Linked DNA regions of Homo sapiens: all the other regions are linked to region 1. Evidence: promoter capture Hi-C in 16 types of primary human blood cells and fetal thymus (Javierre and others, 2016). All regions are on one chromosome and are shown on one strand. The core of a region is centred on a gene start or on the middle of the fragment in contact, and the rest is flanking DNA. Distances in the headings are between cores, read along the strand shown.

Evidence for each region. The method cuts DNA at HindIII sites, captures the fragments that hold promoters and counts their contacts. A CHiCAGO score of 5 or more calls a contact.
Region 2: a contact is called between a fragment that was not itself captured here and the fragment with the promoter of GSAP in region 1, in 4 of 17 cell types (total CD8 T cells, M0 macrophages, activated CD4 T cells and 1 more). The highest score is 5.7, in total CD8 T cells.
Region 3: a contact is called between a fragment that was not itself captured here and the fragment with the promoter of GSAP in region 1, in 1 of 17 cell types (total CD8 T cells). The highest score is 5.1, in total CD8 T cells.
Region 4: a fragment that was not itself captured here is called in contact with the fragment with the promoter of GSAP in region 1 in 15 of 17 cell types (M1 macrophages, M2 macrophages, M0 macrophages and 12 more); the score reaches 22.1 in M1 macrophages.
Region 5: a fragment that was not itself captured here is called in contact with the fragment with the promoter of GSAP in region 1 in 11 of 17 cell types (monocytes, M0 macrophages, M2 macrophages and 8 more); the score reaches 15.6 in monocytes.

Annotation. Positions count from the first base shown.
Region 1 is chr7:77,415,002-77,417,701 of GRCh38, forward strand. GSAP (gamma-secretase activating protein) reads right to left here and starts at 1,348. Exons shown (of 31, transcript NM_017439.4): 1 at 1,212-1,348. The coding sequence starts at 1,320. LOC101927243 (a long non-coding RNA gene) reads left to right here and starts at 197. Exons shown (of 5, transcript NR_110073.1): 1 at 197-347. RefSeq lists silencers at 514-803, 864-1,073, 1,294-1,643. The HindIII fragment of the contact is 1,753 bases long and covers 797-2,549 here.
Region 2 is chr7:77,192,892-77,195,591 of GRCh38, forward strand. The region is part of intron 2 of CCDC146 (coiled-coil domain containing 146); the gene reads left to right. It overlaps FGL2 (fibrinogen like 2), which reads right to left. Exons shown (of 2, transcript NM_006682.3): 2 at 478-2,700. Among named protein-coding and RNA genes, the nearest start is that of FGL2, 5.6 kb to the right of the region's middle. The HindIII fragment of the contact is 429 bases long and covers 1,196-1,624 here.
Region 3 is chr7:77,250,764-77,253,463 of GRCh38, forward strand. All of the region lies in intron 4 of CCDC146 (coiled-coil domain containing 146), which reads left to right. LOC102723791 (a long non-coding RNA gene) reads right to left here. Exons shown (of 6, transcript XR_927688.3): 6 at 2,040-2,114. Among named protein-coding and RNA genes, the nearest start is that of CCDC146-AS1, 3.4 kb to the left of the region's middle. The HindIII fragment of the contact is 3,661 bases long and covers 1-2,700 here.
Region 4 is chr7:77,633,307-77,636,006 of GRCh38, forward strand. It overlaps PTPN12 (protein tyrosine phosphatase non-receptor type 12), which reads left to right. Exons shown (of 18, transcript NM_002835.4): 15 at 2,476-2,543. Among named protein-coding and RNA genes, the nearest start is that of APTR, 62 kb to the right of the region's middle. The HindIII fragment of the contact is 5,173 bases long and covers 1-2,700 here.
Region 5 is chr7:77,588,882-77,591,581 of GRCh38, forward strand. All of the region lies in intron 5 of PTPN12 (protein tyrosine phosphatase non-receptor type 12), which reads left to right. Among named protein-coding and RNA genes, the nearest start is that of PTPN12, 53 kb to the left of the region's middle. The HindIII fragment of the contact is 4,209 bases long and covers 1-2,700 here.

The sequences.
Region 1 (2,700 bases), core at 98-2,597:
AGCGTGTCACCACGCCCAGCTAATTTTTGTATAAAATTCTTCCTTGACCACCCTCTCCACCTCGAAAAAAAGTAAAGCCTTACTAAGCATGACACTAATGCAAACTCAATGCATACGCTACACAAACATATAACTCCTTATTTGGAGCTAATAATATTCCAAGCCAAGGAAACCTACAAATAATTTCGCTATAGTCATAGGAGAGTGTGAAGATACAAGATAGCAACTTGATATATAACTCACATCAAGAAAACTTTCACCAGCGTTTAAGGGAAAGGAGTTGTAGATGTGGGTCATTTAATACCCACTTCCAAATTCACTGAAGTGGACAGCGCCCTACACACAAGGTGAGACCTACAGGCATCATTGCTTTGAAGCTGCATTTAAGCTCTGAAGCTCCAATATTTATAGAAGACTTTTAAAACTTTGTAAGAAATCACAAAGTTCCCCTTCTTTAAAACAGATCAGTGCTGGGAAGGCTCAAAAGTCACTTTCACTCCCTTACCAAATCATCAAAAAGCCCGGAGTGGCAGGGCCGGGAGCCGAGCATCTCGCGCGCAGCCCCAGCCTGCACAGGTGCGGAGCTCGGGGGCGGCTGGGGGCTCTCGCCCCGCCGCGCGCAGCCTGGAGGCGGCCCCTGCCCTCTTGCGCCTCACCGCCGAGGCCCATGTCCCCTGAGCCACGGACACGGTTCAACAGACACATAAACACGTCTCGCAAATGTGGGGACAAACTGTTCCACCGTTAGGTATAGGGTGGTTTGCTTGGTGGTCACGGATTCTTTCTCAAAACGTGAAGCTTCCAGGAGCACTCCTGTCTTGGCAAAGCCCCTGCGCTGCCGATGAACCCCCCGGGAGGTGGGATGCGGCCGCTGAGCTGAGCACGACCCTCTGCCCTCGCCGTGAGGTGATGCTGAGGGAACCGCCAGCGGCCCGGCCCCTCTGCCAAGGGCGAATTTCCGCGGGCCGGCAGCGAGCCAGGCGCCTCAGGCCCCACGGCGACCTGGCCCGGGCTCTGCCCCCAGACCTTCCGCCGTGGCTGGGTGTGGGTGGCAAAGCCAAAACAGCCCTCTGAGGAGGGGAGCGACGCCCTCGCACCAGCCTTCTCAGGGCGGCGACGCCCCGGGTTGCTCCCCACCGGGTCGGAGTCCGGGGGGTATGAGGGACTCCCACTCCCCGCCCCCACCCCTCTCCGCAGCGCGCCTCCCGCACCTGCGCCGCCGCTTCCGGCCCCGCTGGCCTCCGACACTGCCCGCTGCGCCCGCAACCACGGGAGCACGTCCTTCCCGAGGTCGAAGTCGGCGACCAGGCGAAGAGCCATCGCCCGGACACGACCACCGGGCGGCTCTGGGGCCCCGCACCGCGGGCATTCCCGGCCCCGCGTGGCCGCCTCGCCCTCGCGTCCCCGCTCCCGCCCCCTCTTTCCTCTCCCCCGCCCCCTGCTGCTTTCGGTTCTGCAGCGCCCTGGCCTGAGAAGCTCCGGCACCAGCTCCTCCCGGCCGGCGGCCCGCACCTGAGCCGGAGCCGGAGCCGGGCACGGCGGGTAGCGGTGGGGCGGGGTGGACCAGGCGCCAGGACCAGGCCCGCCGGGGCGGGAGGCCTCCGCGCGCACCTTCGGGGCTGAGGATAGAGGGCGCAAAGACGTGGGCGCTTCAGGGCCTTGGCGAGGCCGCTAGCCCAGTGGCTTCCAAACCTGGAGGGTCGGCCTATTTTCTTTATTCTACAAGTGCCTCCACTGTGCAGCAAAGTGTGGAAACCACTTGGCTTGAGAGAGCTGGGTCCTCTGGAGCAGTTCAGGGTCACCACAGAAGTAGGCCGTCTCTTGGGCCTATTCGCCCCAGCTTCGAGGTGGTGGTGCTTTATTAGTGTTATTAAGGTAATGAGTAGCAACTGGGAGCGTATGACGAAGGTGATCCCATTGTAAGAGAAACGCTAAAAGGGGTTAATGCGCTTGATACAAACAGCGTCCTTTTTGCCTTTTAACTCTAGTACATCTCATTTGATGCCTTGAGACATGAAAACTGAATCTTAAGTCTCCACGCAAACCCTCTGCCTCCCACCAGGGTCTAACAGAGCACTCTGGAAGGTGCTCGACAATTACTGAAGAATGAGTGAATACAGTAATAAAGAATGCTTTTTCACATGCTTCCGAAATTAAGGTCTGAAAACTACTTGTATTGACGTCATCTGGGGCACTATTTTACAATGCAGACTCCTGATCTCTACACCTGGACAAGACCAGAAACGTGCATTTTACCCAGAGCCTCGGGTGATTCTTAGGCTTACTAAGTTTGAAAACTACTCCAACCAAATGTAAAAGAAAGTCTTGAATTTTTTTCCCTCCTAGAGACATGTTTCTCCAACTGAGGTAATGGATGATTTCAGGTAGAACTCCATTACTCACCACCATATACAGAGGAAAGTCCTCCCACCCGGGAAGTGCATGCAAATTTAAGATAAATGCCTAATGAAGCTGCTAATATTATCAGTGAATAAAAGGAAGGCCACTGGAGCCCCCAAGGAGCTAATGCAACTATTTCATATCAAATAAGCTTGTTGCCTTTGTCATACAGAAACACTGTTGGCCAATTTTTTAAAGTCAGTACATTTCCATTGTTTTTATTTTTGCAGTTAACTTCTATTTTTGCCAGGCAGGACTGATTTTATAGTCAAGCAGTGATGATATAAAAAATTCTCTTCA
Region 2 (2,700 bases), core at 160-2,659, 220 kb before region 1:
CAGCCTGGGCGACAGAGTGAGACTCCGTCTCTAAAAAAAATAAAATAAAATAATAAAAAAAAAGAAAAGAAGGCGTTGTTGAAAGTTTTTTAAGCAGGACAATAACATGATCAGAATTGTACTTTTGAACAATCCCCCTGGTAGGGATGAAAGTTGGACTGGAATAGACTGAAACCAGAGGTACAGACTATTCAGATGCGTTTGTGTTGTCCTAAGGAGATGAAGAGGGCTAACCAGAGCAGCAACACTAATAACGGAAAAAGAGGAGAGGAAGTTGAATGCCACAAAATGAAACTGAAACTTTTGTATTTCAAATGTTTCAACAGTATTCTAGAGGGAAGTAAGATAATGGTGTTCCTCTATTTGCCTCTGACTTCTTGTTAATGAAATAGTACTCATTAAAGTCTTCAGAGTCACAGATATTGTATAGCTGAGGTAAGCATTTTACAACTTTTCAGACACAAGTAAGTACATAAATATTATTTTACAACCAACAATATTTAATATTTCCACATTGAAGAATAGATGTGATAATTAAATCTTTTATAAGGTTTTAAAAAGACATGAAACATAAACCTAATTATACATAAAAGAAAAGAATTTTAAACAAGAGCTTATTGTGATGACATTACTCATAACTTTTACCTTTAAAACCTTTTCTTGGGTAGCTATTCAAAAGTAAAGACCACAAGTTTTGTTGCCCAGATTTCTTATGTTTTGTATATTTAAGCTCTTTATTTATTGAACAGATGTGTCATTAATTCATTTGGAGCATTACTATTATCAGTAAAATTTGATTTTTTTTTCCCCTCAGTCATAGGTAAATCAGCTCCACCTGGAATTTCTAAGGACCCAGTTTTAGTCAATATTTTCAAGTAATCATGACCTCAGAAATAGTCTTAATTAAGATAACAAATATTAGCCATCAAAATGGAACCAAGACAAGATTCTAATGTTTGTAAACAGTCAATCCATATTTATGAATATTAGCATATATTGGTGAATAGTTAAGGCAAAAGGTTCTAGCAGATGTAATCTATTTCCATCAACATGTTAAATGTTATAAAAGTCTAGAATTATTGGTAACATGAAATGATTCCAAAATGGAATTTCTGTGTTACAGAATTTACTAGAAAAGTGCTGTGAAAGTATAATGAAAAATAAAGTGATCCCTTGAAATAATGTGGATAGAACAAGCTTTTGAATATTTACATGGATTAATGAATTATTTGCCAAATTCTCCTGAAGTTATACCTAGTTCCCATTAAATTAATGGACACCGTGTATATGAGCATATACCTTTCTTTAGAACTATGTTTTGTGATAAGTCCATTTTTACTCACAGGAATTTACTTAAACTTGTACATATATTAATTATATATACTAAATGACAATGACCTTATCTGAAACAAATACATTGTATAATATCAAAACGTTTTTAGTCTTTTTTAAAAAGTAAAAAGTAAAAAACAACGTCAGTTACATCATTTACATTTGGTATCCCACCTAATAGAGACACAGCTTTTGAAATCTACAATATTTTACATTTTGGTCATCATTTAATGCTATTTGCATTTCTCTTTAACATTTTAATAGTATTTGTGATATATCATGTTTAACTGAAAGCTTTGGGTTATATATTTTAAAGGAATATCTTACTTTTTGACTAAATAGTTCTGTAAGGGCCTAATATTTGAAAAATTAGCTTGTTACCTGAAGCAACTATCCTCCTTAATCATTTTAAAATAATGGGTAAAGATGCATCTTTGTAAATATATTTTGAAAACTTGGTTAGTGTATTAGAAACAGACACCAGAAATTAAAAAAATTATTTCTAGGACTGGCATACACTACAGTGAATTACTTCAAATGTTACTCTAGAGCATTTTTAAAAATACGCAGAATACTGCTGTTCTCTCTGAGATGATCCCTTTTTACGATGATGAAATTAAACACATTTAAAAAGTCTTTTAAATATTATATATAGCATTCCAGAATTGATGAATTATAAAAATTACAGATACTTCTGTTTGGGTAAAAATCTATCTTTTAGTTTCTGATAGTAAAATAAGCAATCTACCAGCCAGGGTTGAAATATATAGTATTTTAACTACTGTTCTATATATTTCAAAATTCATGTTTTCTATCTGTCCTAGAGAAACTTAGCCTTCTATGAAGTGAATCACTTAATGATATTATTGCTTTGGAGATAAAATTGGCCTCAGAGTATGATAGCCTGTAAGTAAATGCTTCATTACCCACATATCCCTACCCACCCCCCCCAAAAAAACCTACCAGTAGTCTAGTACAGTAGTGAGCAATCTTAAATTAAAAGCTATTGTTCACACAGAGCAGAGGAAGATAATTTTCATGTTAAAGCAGTTTTCAACATCAAACATCTAAGGAGTTATAAACTATAAATGAATTACCTTTAAACCCTGGTCTTCACAGTTACATTGCTTTCTGAATGCTTTTTGGGGTGACATTATGCTACCACATTTTTAAACGGTTTAAATGACAAGTATTTTATATTTCATGAATGATAAATGAACAAGTTTAATTATATAGATATTAGTTCCCTTAGTCTGGGAACCAAAATGCTGTAGGGTTGTTCTGTTGCAAAGTAAATGATATAGATTAAGTTTGTCTCAGAATGAAGATTACCCAAATAATTATAGCCTGAAAAGAGTGATATACCTT
Region 3 (2,700 bases), core at 59-2,558, 160 kb before region 1:
TTATGAGTATTTATGCCTTTTGTAGTTGTCCCAGAGTTCTTGGATATTCTGGTATTTTCCTAGTCTTTTTTTTTTTTTTTTCCAGTTTGGGTAGTGTCTAGTAAGATATCCTCAAGCTCAGAGATTCCTTCCTCAGCCAAGTTCGTTCTGTTAGTAAGCCTATTAGAGGCATTCTTCATTTCTGATACAGTGATTTTGATCTCTGGTATTTGTGTGTGTGTGTGTGTGTGTGTGTGTGTGTGTGTGTGTGTGTGTGTGTGTGTTTGGTTGTTTGTTTTTGAGACATAGTCTCACTCTGTCCAGGCTGGAGTACAGTGGCACAATCTCGGCTCACTGCAACCTCTGCCTCCCAGGTTCAAGATAATCTCCTGCCTCAGCTTCCTGAGTAGCTGGGATTACAAGTGGCCGCCAATACGCCCAGCTAATTTTTGTATTTTTTGTAGAGATGGGATTTCACCATATTGGCCAGGCTGGTCTTGAACTCCTGACCTCAAGTTATCTGCCCGCCTCAGCCTCCCAAAGTGCTGGGATTACAGGCATGAACCACCATGCCTGGCTGAGTATTTCTTTTTTATTATTTCTTAGAATTTCCTTCTCTCTACTTAAACTGCCCATTTCGGGATTGAGTTTATCTGTTAGCGTTCTTAGCCTATTAGTCATAGTTGTTTTAAATTCCTGATAATTCACACATCCCTGCCATATCTGGTTCTGATGGTTGCTCTGTCTCTTCAGATTGTGTTTTTTGCCTTTCAGTGTGCCTTGCAGTTTTTTTCTTGATAGCCAGACACGATGTACTGGGTAAAAGGAATTGCTTTAAATAGGACTTCAGGAACATGGTGGTAAGGTGTGGAGGGAGGGGAGCATTCTACAGTGTTGTGATTAGGTCTCAGTAGCAGAGGTCATATGTAATGGGAGCCCACAGGAGCCAAAATTCTGGGGGAAGGGAACCTTTGGAGCTGTGATTCTCAAGAGAATTAAAAAGTCTCTTTTGCTCGCTCGCTCTTGTGCTCTTTCTCTCACACAGATGTCAGTAAATTTGAAGATAAAAATTGTCCAATCTGAACAGAGAGAAAAAAATTTTGAATAAAAATGAACAGATCCATGGCCGGGCGCAGTGGCTCACGCCTGTAATCCCAGCACTTTGGGAGGCCGAGGCAGGCAGATCACCTGAGGTCAGGAGTTCAAAACGAGGCTGGCTAACATGGTGAAACCCCGTCTTTACTGAAAATACAAATATTAGCTGGACGTGGTGGCACGTGCCTATGGTCCCAGCTATCCAGGAGGCTGAGGCAGGAGAATTGCTGGAACCCACAAGGTAGAGGTTGCAGTGAGCCGAGATCATGCCACTGCACTCCAGCCTAGGGAACAGAGCGAGACTCCATCTCAAAAACAAACAAACAAAAACAGATCTATAGGCATCCATGAGACAATAACAAAATATCTAATTTATGTCACTGGAGTTGCAGTAAGAGAAGAGAAGGTATATGATTATGAAAAAAATTGGAAGAAGTAATGGCTGAAAACTCCCCATGTTTGGTGAAAGAAAAGTCCACAGATTCAAAAAGCTCAATGAGCCCCAAACAGGGTAAACTCAAAGAAATATGTTCCAAATGCATCACAGTAAAACTTGAAAATTAAAAATGAAGAAAAAATCTTGAAAGAAGCAAGAAACGGGCTTCAAGAATGACGCTCATGTTTATAATTTTGAAAATTAAGTGAATTGAAATGCCATTACCAAAAGAAGGAATAGAAAAACAGTAGGTTTCAGATGGGAAGATAATGAGTTTTAATTTGATGGGCCTTTGATATACACAACTGGAATTGCCCAGTAAGAAATTAAACATAAAAATTTGGAGCTCCAGGGAAATTCTGAACTGGAAATAAGGATGTTTAACGCATCACTGTAACTGGCACTGTGGAAACGGTATACAGAATAAGAAAAGGAGAAGTTAGGCTTCAGCTAGACTATGCAATAAGAACAAATCTTAAAATCTCAGCAGAAGAACTCAATGGAATTTTGTTTCTCACTCATAGCACAGTCCAGTGCAAGTCATGCAGCCACGTCTGTCCTTAGCTTTGCCAGCGGGAGCACGTGCCTTCCAAGTTCAACATGGCTGGGGAAGACATTTGTTACTTACTTCCACTCACCTTCCTTGGGCAAATTAGTCCAATGGCTCCAATCCAAATGCAAGGGAGACTGTGAAATATAGTCCCCCTGTGTGTCCAGGAAGGGAAAATGGTGCAGCAAACAATGCCAATGTGTCTGTCACAAGGGCCAAAGGCAGATCCTTATAAACTTAGCCAATGACAGGATAGAAGTGTAGACAAGGTGTGCCCACCTGGACTGCTTATGAGTTCATGCCACAATTTTAATAGCTTGTAGTGGAAACAAAAGTGAAAATAATTGTCCTCAAATACCCATACCTAATAACCACTTAGACTTGGCTCCTGGTCTAAATCTGCCCTTCACCTGAAATATCCATTCAGTCTCTTATGTATCCATGTCCCTATCACATCTGGATCTCTGTCAAGTTTCCTCTGGCTCTAGCATTCGTTATACCTCAGGAATGCAATTGTCACACAAAACTGAAACTGAGCTCTTCAAATAACCCTTCTTCACACCTTTGAACAACTGTGGACTCTTCTGTGATTTCTGTGAGGGTTTTCTGCAATCTGGATGTAGAAGAATGTGGTGCAATA
Region 4 (2,700 bases), core at 38-2,537, 220 kb after region 1:
GGTGTATTTTCATTCATTAAAAATAGCACTTATTGACTCATGCCTGTAATCCTGCCACTTTGGGAGACCAAGGCGGGCAGATCACGAGGTCAGGACATCAAGACCATCCTGGCTAACACACTGAAACCCTGTCTCTACTAGAAATACAAAAAATTAGCTGTGTGTGGTGGCATGCACCAGTAGTCCCAGCTGCTCGGGAGGCTGAGGCAGGAGAATCGCTTGAACCCCGGAGGCAGAGGTTGGAGTGAGCCGAGACCATGCCACTGCACTCCAGCCTGGGCAACAGAGCAAGACTCCATCTCAAAAAAAAAAAAAGTAGCACTTATTTATGAAAACATTAATTGCTTTCCTTAGATTTAGGTCAGTAAACATTTCTGTTGGGTGGGCGTCACTGGATTGGTGTTAACTGAAAGACATTTAACACCACTGGAGTAGACTGAGCACATTGGCTCATACCTGTAATCGCAGCACTTTGGGAGTCCAAGGCGCGAGGATTGCTTGAGCCTAAGAGTTTGAGACCAGCCTGGGCAACACAGTGATACCTCCTCTCTTCTAAAAATAAAATAACTGTCCAGTTGTGGTGGTGGGCGCCTGTAATCCCAGCTGCTTGGGAGGCTGAGGCAGGAGAATTGCTTGAACCCAGGATGCAGAGGTTGCAGCGAGCTGAGACCACGCCATTGCATTCCAGCCTGGGCAACAAGAGCAAAAAACTTTGTCTCAAAAAATAATAATAACAACAAAAAATTAGCCAGGTGTGGTGGCATGTGCCTGTAGTCCTTGCTACTCAGGAGGCTGAAGAAGAAGGATTGCTTGATCCCTGTAGTTGGAGGCTGCAGTGAGCCATGATCGCACCACTGTACTCCAGTTTGGTAACAGTGAGACCCCGTCTGTGGAAGAAAAAAAAAAGACCACTGGAGTATCAGAACTGGGAGAAAGTGATGATACTTTAAAACATTGATAATATACTTCTCCCTATTAATCCTCTAAAAAAGAGTGCAGAAACAGCTTGATTGTATTTACAGTGTCTCATGCTCAGTGGAGGTGCTCACTTGTCTAAGTACATTTTACCAATATATTAATTTTGACTGATTTTTGTTTTGTTTCATTTGGTTTTCTTTTTATTTATTTATTTTTTATTTATTCATTTTTTTGAGATGGAGTCTCATTCTGTCGCCCCGGCTGGAGTGCAGTGGCACGATCTCGGCTCACTGCAAGCTCCACCTCTTGGGTTCATGCCATTCTCCTGCCTCAGCCTCCCATGTAGCTGGGACTACAGGTGCCTGCCACCACACCCGGCTTATTTTTTTGTATTTTTTTTAGTAGAGACAGGGTTTCACCGTGTTAGCCAGGATGGTCCATCTCCTGACCTCATGATCCGCCCACCTCAGCCTCTCAAAGTGCTGGGATTACAGGCATGAGCCACCACGCCCGGCTAATTTTTTTGTATTTTTTTAGTAGAGACAGGGTTTCACCATGTTAGCCAGGATGGTCTCCATCTCCTGACCTCGTGATCGCCCGCCTCAGCCTCCCAAAGTGCTGGGATTACAGGCGGGAGCCACCACGCCCGGCCTTGTTTTGTTTTATTTCGAGTTGGAGTTCCACTCTGTCACTCAGGCTGGAGTGCAGTGGCACGATCTGGGCTCAAGCTGTTCTCCTGCCTCAGCCTCCTGAGTAGCTGCGATTAGAGGCATACACCGTCACTCCCAACTAATTTTTTTATTAGAGATAGGGTCTCACCATGTTGGCCAGGCTGGTCTTGAACTCCTGACCTCAAGTGATCTGCCTGCCTCAGCCTCCCAAAGTGAATTTTGACTGATTTTAAGATAAATGTTAAAGAGCCAAGCACAATGGCTTATGCCTGTGATCCCAGCACTTTGGGAGACCAAGGCAGGTGGATCTCTGTTCCATTTGCCCTAGGAGTTTGAGACCAGCCTGGGCAACATGGCAAAACCCTGTCTGTATAAAATCAAAAATTAGCCAGGCGAGGTGGCATGCACCTATAGTCCCAGCTACTCAAGAAGCTGAGATGGGAAGATTGCCTGAGCCTGGGAGGTTGAGGCTCCAGTGAGCCGAGATCGCGCCTGGTCAACAGAGTGAGACCCTGTCTCAACAACAATTAAAAAGAATGTTGAAAGCAATGAAACGGTATACTTCAGTTGTCTAAGTCTGTCACGTTGTCTGTAGATTAAGCAGTATACTTCACTTGTCTGTCACATTATCTATAGACTGTAATACACTGATGACTGAATTTATTTACTTAGGTTTTGAAGGAAGGAAACAGAATGTTCTCGAATTAATAGAAACTACAATTTTTTTTTTTTAGAAACTTCAGAAATATGCTTACCCAGAAACTACAAAATTTTTGTGGAAGCGATAGTTTCTAAAATCTTTAGGATCTGTTTTTTGTATTACTTTAATGCAAAGAAATTTCAGAAATTCAAGGTGTTAATAACAATAAGATTTCATTTTTCTCAGATACACCTGTAAGATCGGAATGGAGTGAACTTCAAAGTCAGGAACGATCTGAACAAAAAAAGTCTGAAGTAAGTCCTTTTGGAATTGGAACAGTTATAGCTTAACATTTCTACTCTTTTGTTAACTAATCTTGCAGTTGTTGAAATAGCTGTCATCTTAAGATCGTTAAATATAGTTTGTAATTTTTGATCGGCATTTCTTATACTAAGATTTCAGATGAAAAGC
Region 5 (2,700 bases), core at 187-2,686, 170 kb after region 1:
TGAGACTGTGAGACAGAATCCTGCTGTGTCAGTCAGGCTGGAGTGCAGTGGCGCGATCTCGGCTCACTGCAACCTCCATCTCCCGGGTTCAGGTATATTTCCTGTCTCAGCCTCCCGAGTAGCTGGGACTACAGGCGCCTACCACCATGGCTCAGCTCATTTTTGTATTTTTAGTAGAGATGGGGTTTCACTGTGTTGGCCAGGCTGGTCTCGAACTCCTGACCTCAGGTGATCCGACCGCCTTTGTCTCCCAAAGTGCTGGGATTACAGGCATATAATCCCATGTAATCCACCGCACCAGGCCTGAATATCTTGATTAGTCTGTTTGTTAATACCACAGTATGTTTTGTTTGTTTCCTATCTTCAAAACTGAGAGAAGATAATTTCTTACCCTGATTTTCTAACATTGGTATTTTTATGCTATGTCGAAGTAAAATTTATTTCAAAGCTATTCTGGTATCCTACAGCATCATATTCTGTCCTCACTGTAGGAGGTAATGATATATTTACAGATAATTCATATTTAAATAAAACTTATAAAGTGTGGTCTTCTATAAATATGGCATACAAATCAAACTTACAAATTACATAGTGATTTTATTTGAAGTTTTTTAATACTAATGTAGTTAATATATTTAAAATTATCTTTAGTTTGTAAATATGTTAATTTTTTCAGTAAGCAATATATTGCAAAAGATACATCTTTCAGTTATATTACATAAATAATTGGGAAGCCTTAATTTATTCCATTACTCCCAACTATTTCCTATGTCAGTATTAAGTAATGTTGGACAGAAAGTGAATAAAATGAGAAAATATAAAAACTGAGAAATTATTAAGTAATCAAGTTATCTATTTAAGGGTTGTCAATATATACATTAATATTATTAATCAATTGTCTAAGAGAATTTAAATGTCATTCTCCTAATGTTTTAAGTTACTGTTAAGGTTTAGGATGTATTTCTCTTTTCATTATATTAGTAAGCTCATAGTATGTATCAAGTTATTGATGAAAAATCAAGTAGCATTGAGTACATAATTTTTTGAAGCGAAAGGTTTTTGTGATTCACTGTGTCTTATTAGTAATAGATTATGAGCAAGTTAGGAACTATGAAATTATCTGATAACCTTGACTTTGATCTTGACTTTGAATGTGACCTGGTGGAAAAAGCATAGATAATTAAATCAGACAAACCTACCTTTTACAAGCATTTTGACCATGGTGCAGTACAGTTCACTCTGAGCTTCAGTTTCCTCACATTTGAAAGGAAATAATACCCACCTTGCAGTGTTAGAGATTATGTATGTATGATATTTAACACATAGTTTTTGATATCATTATTAGTTTTATACCAGGAATATAAGTACCAATATAATCTTATTACTGCTCATCTGAATGAGGGGCATTGTTAGTCACACCGCTTTCTATTCTTAACTAAATTAATCTCTTACAACTTGTTTTCTATCTGTTTCAAAGTATTAAAGTTTTGTCAGGTAAAAGATTAAAAAAATGTTTTTTAAACTCTCAAAAATAATTTAAGGTCCAAGTGTAAGTATAGTGGCTCACACCTGTAATCCCAGCTACTTGGGAGGCTAGGGTGGGAGAATTGCTTGAGCCCAGGAGTTTGAGACCAGCTTTGGCAACATGGCAAGACCCCATCTCTATTTTTTTTAAATCTTTTTTTTTTTTTTGTGGGGAGAGACAGTCTCGCTCTGTCGCCCAGGCTTGAGTGCAGTGGCACAATCTCAGCTCTTTGCAACCTGCATCTCCCAGGTTCAAACGATTCTCATGTCTCAGCCTCCTGAGTAGCTGGGATTAAAGGCATGTGCCACCATGCCTGGCTAATTTTTTTGTATTTTTGAGTAGAGACAAGGTTTTGCCATGTTGGCCAGTCTGGTCTTGAACTCCTTGCCTTAAGTCATCCACCCACGTTGGCCTTCCAAAGTGCTGGGATTATAGGCATGAGCCACCACGCCCGGCCTCCATCTATTAAAAAAAAAAAAAATTAGCCGGTTGTGGTGGCACACGCCTGTGGTCCCAGCTACTCAGGAGGCTGAGGTGGGAAGATCACTTGAGCCCAGAAGGTAGAGGCTGCAGTGAGCCGTGATTGCACCACTGCACACTCCAGCCTGGGTGACAAAGTGAGACCCTATCTAAAAAAAGAGAGAATTTAATTTAATCATTTTCTGTAAACATCTCTTGGAAAATGAGATTTGGAAGTTACCTGTGTTTTTAAGCCTCTAAAATGTTAGCTAACCCAACATACCAGACAGTTCTACTTTGTTTCTCTGTGAGCATTACTGTCAACTTATAGTTCATTCAGCCTATAGGTAATAACTCCATTTACTGTATTTGGAACTGTGAAGATTTAATTAGGAATTCATTAACCAATGCATTTCCCACTGCTTAAAAGGTTTATTTAAGCTAGATGGTCACTTAGAGACTTTGATTTTATTGGGCCTTGATACAAATTGCATCATTTCTTAATACCTGAATCATTCTATTTTCCATAAAGTTAGGCTTTTCATTCACTTAACTGATTTTCTAAAATGATGAGGTGCTTGATATTAGAAACTGATGAAAATTTATCATTCTTTTTCTATACCTGTTTAAAATAGGAAGGTAAGAGGAGAAATTATTTGACTACACTTTCTGTAATCTCTAATAAAATTGAATAGTTAATACATCATGTTTGTGTA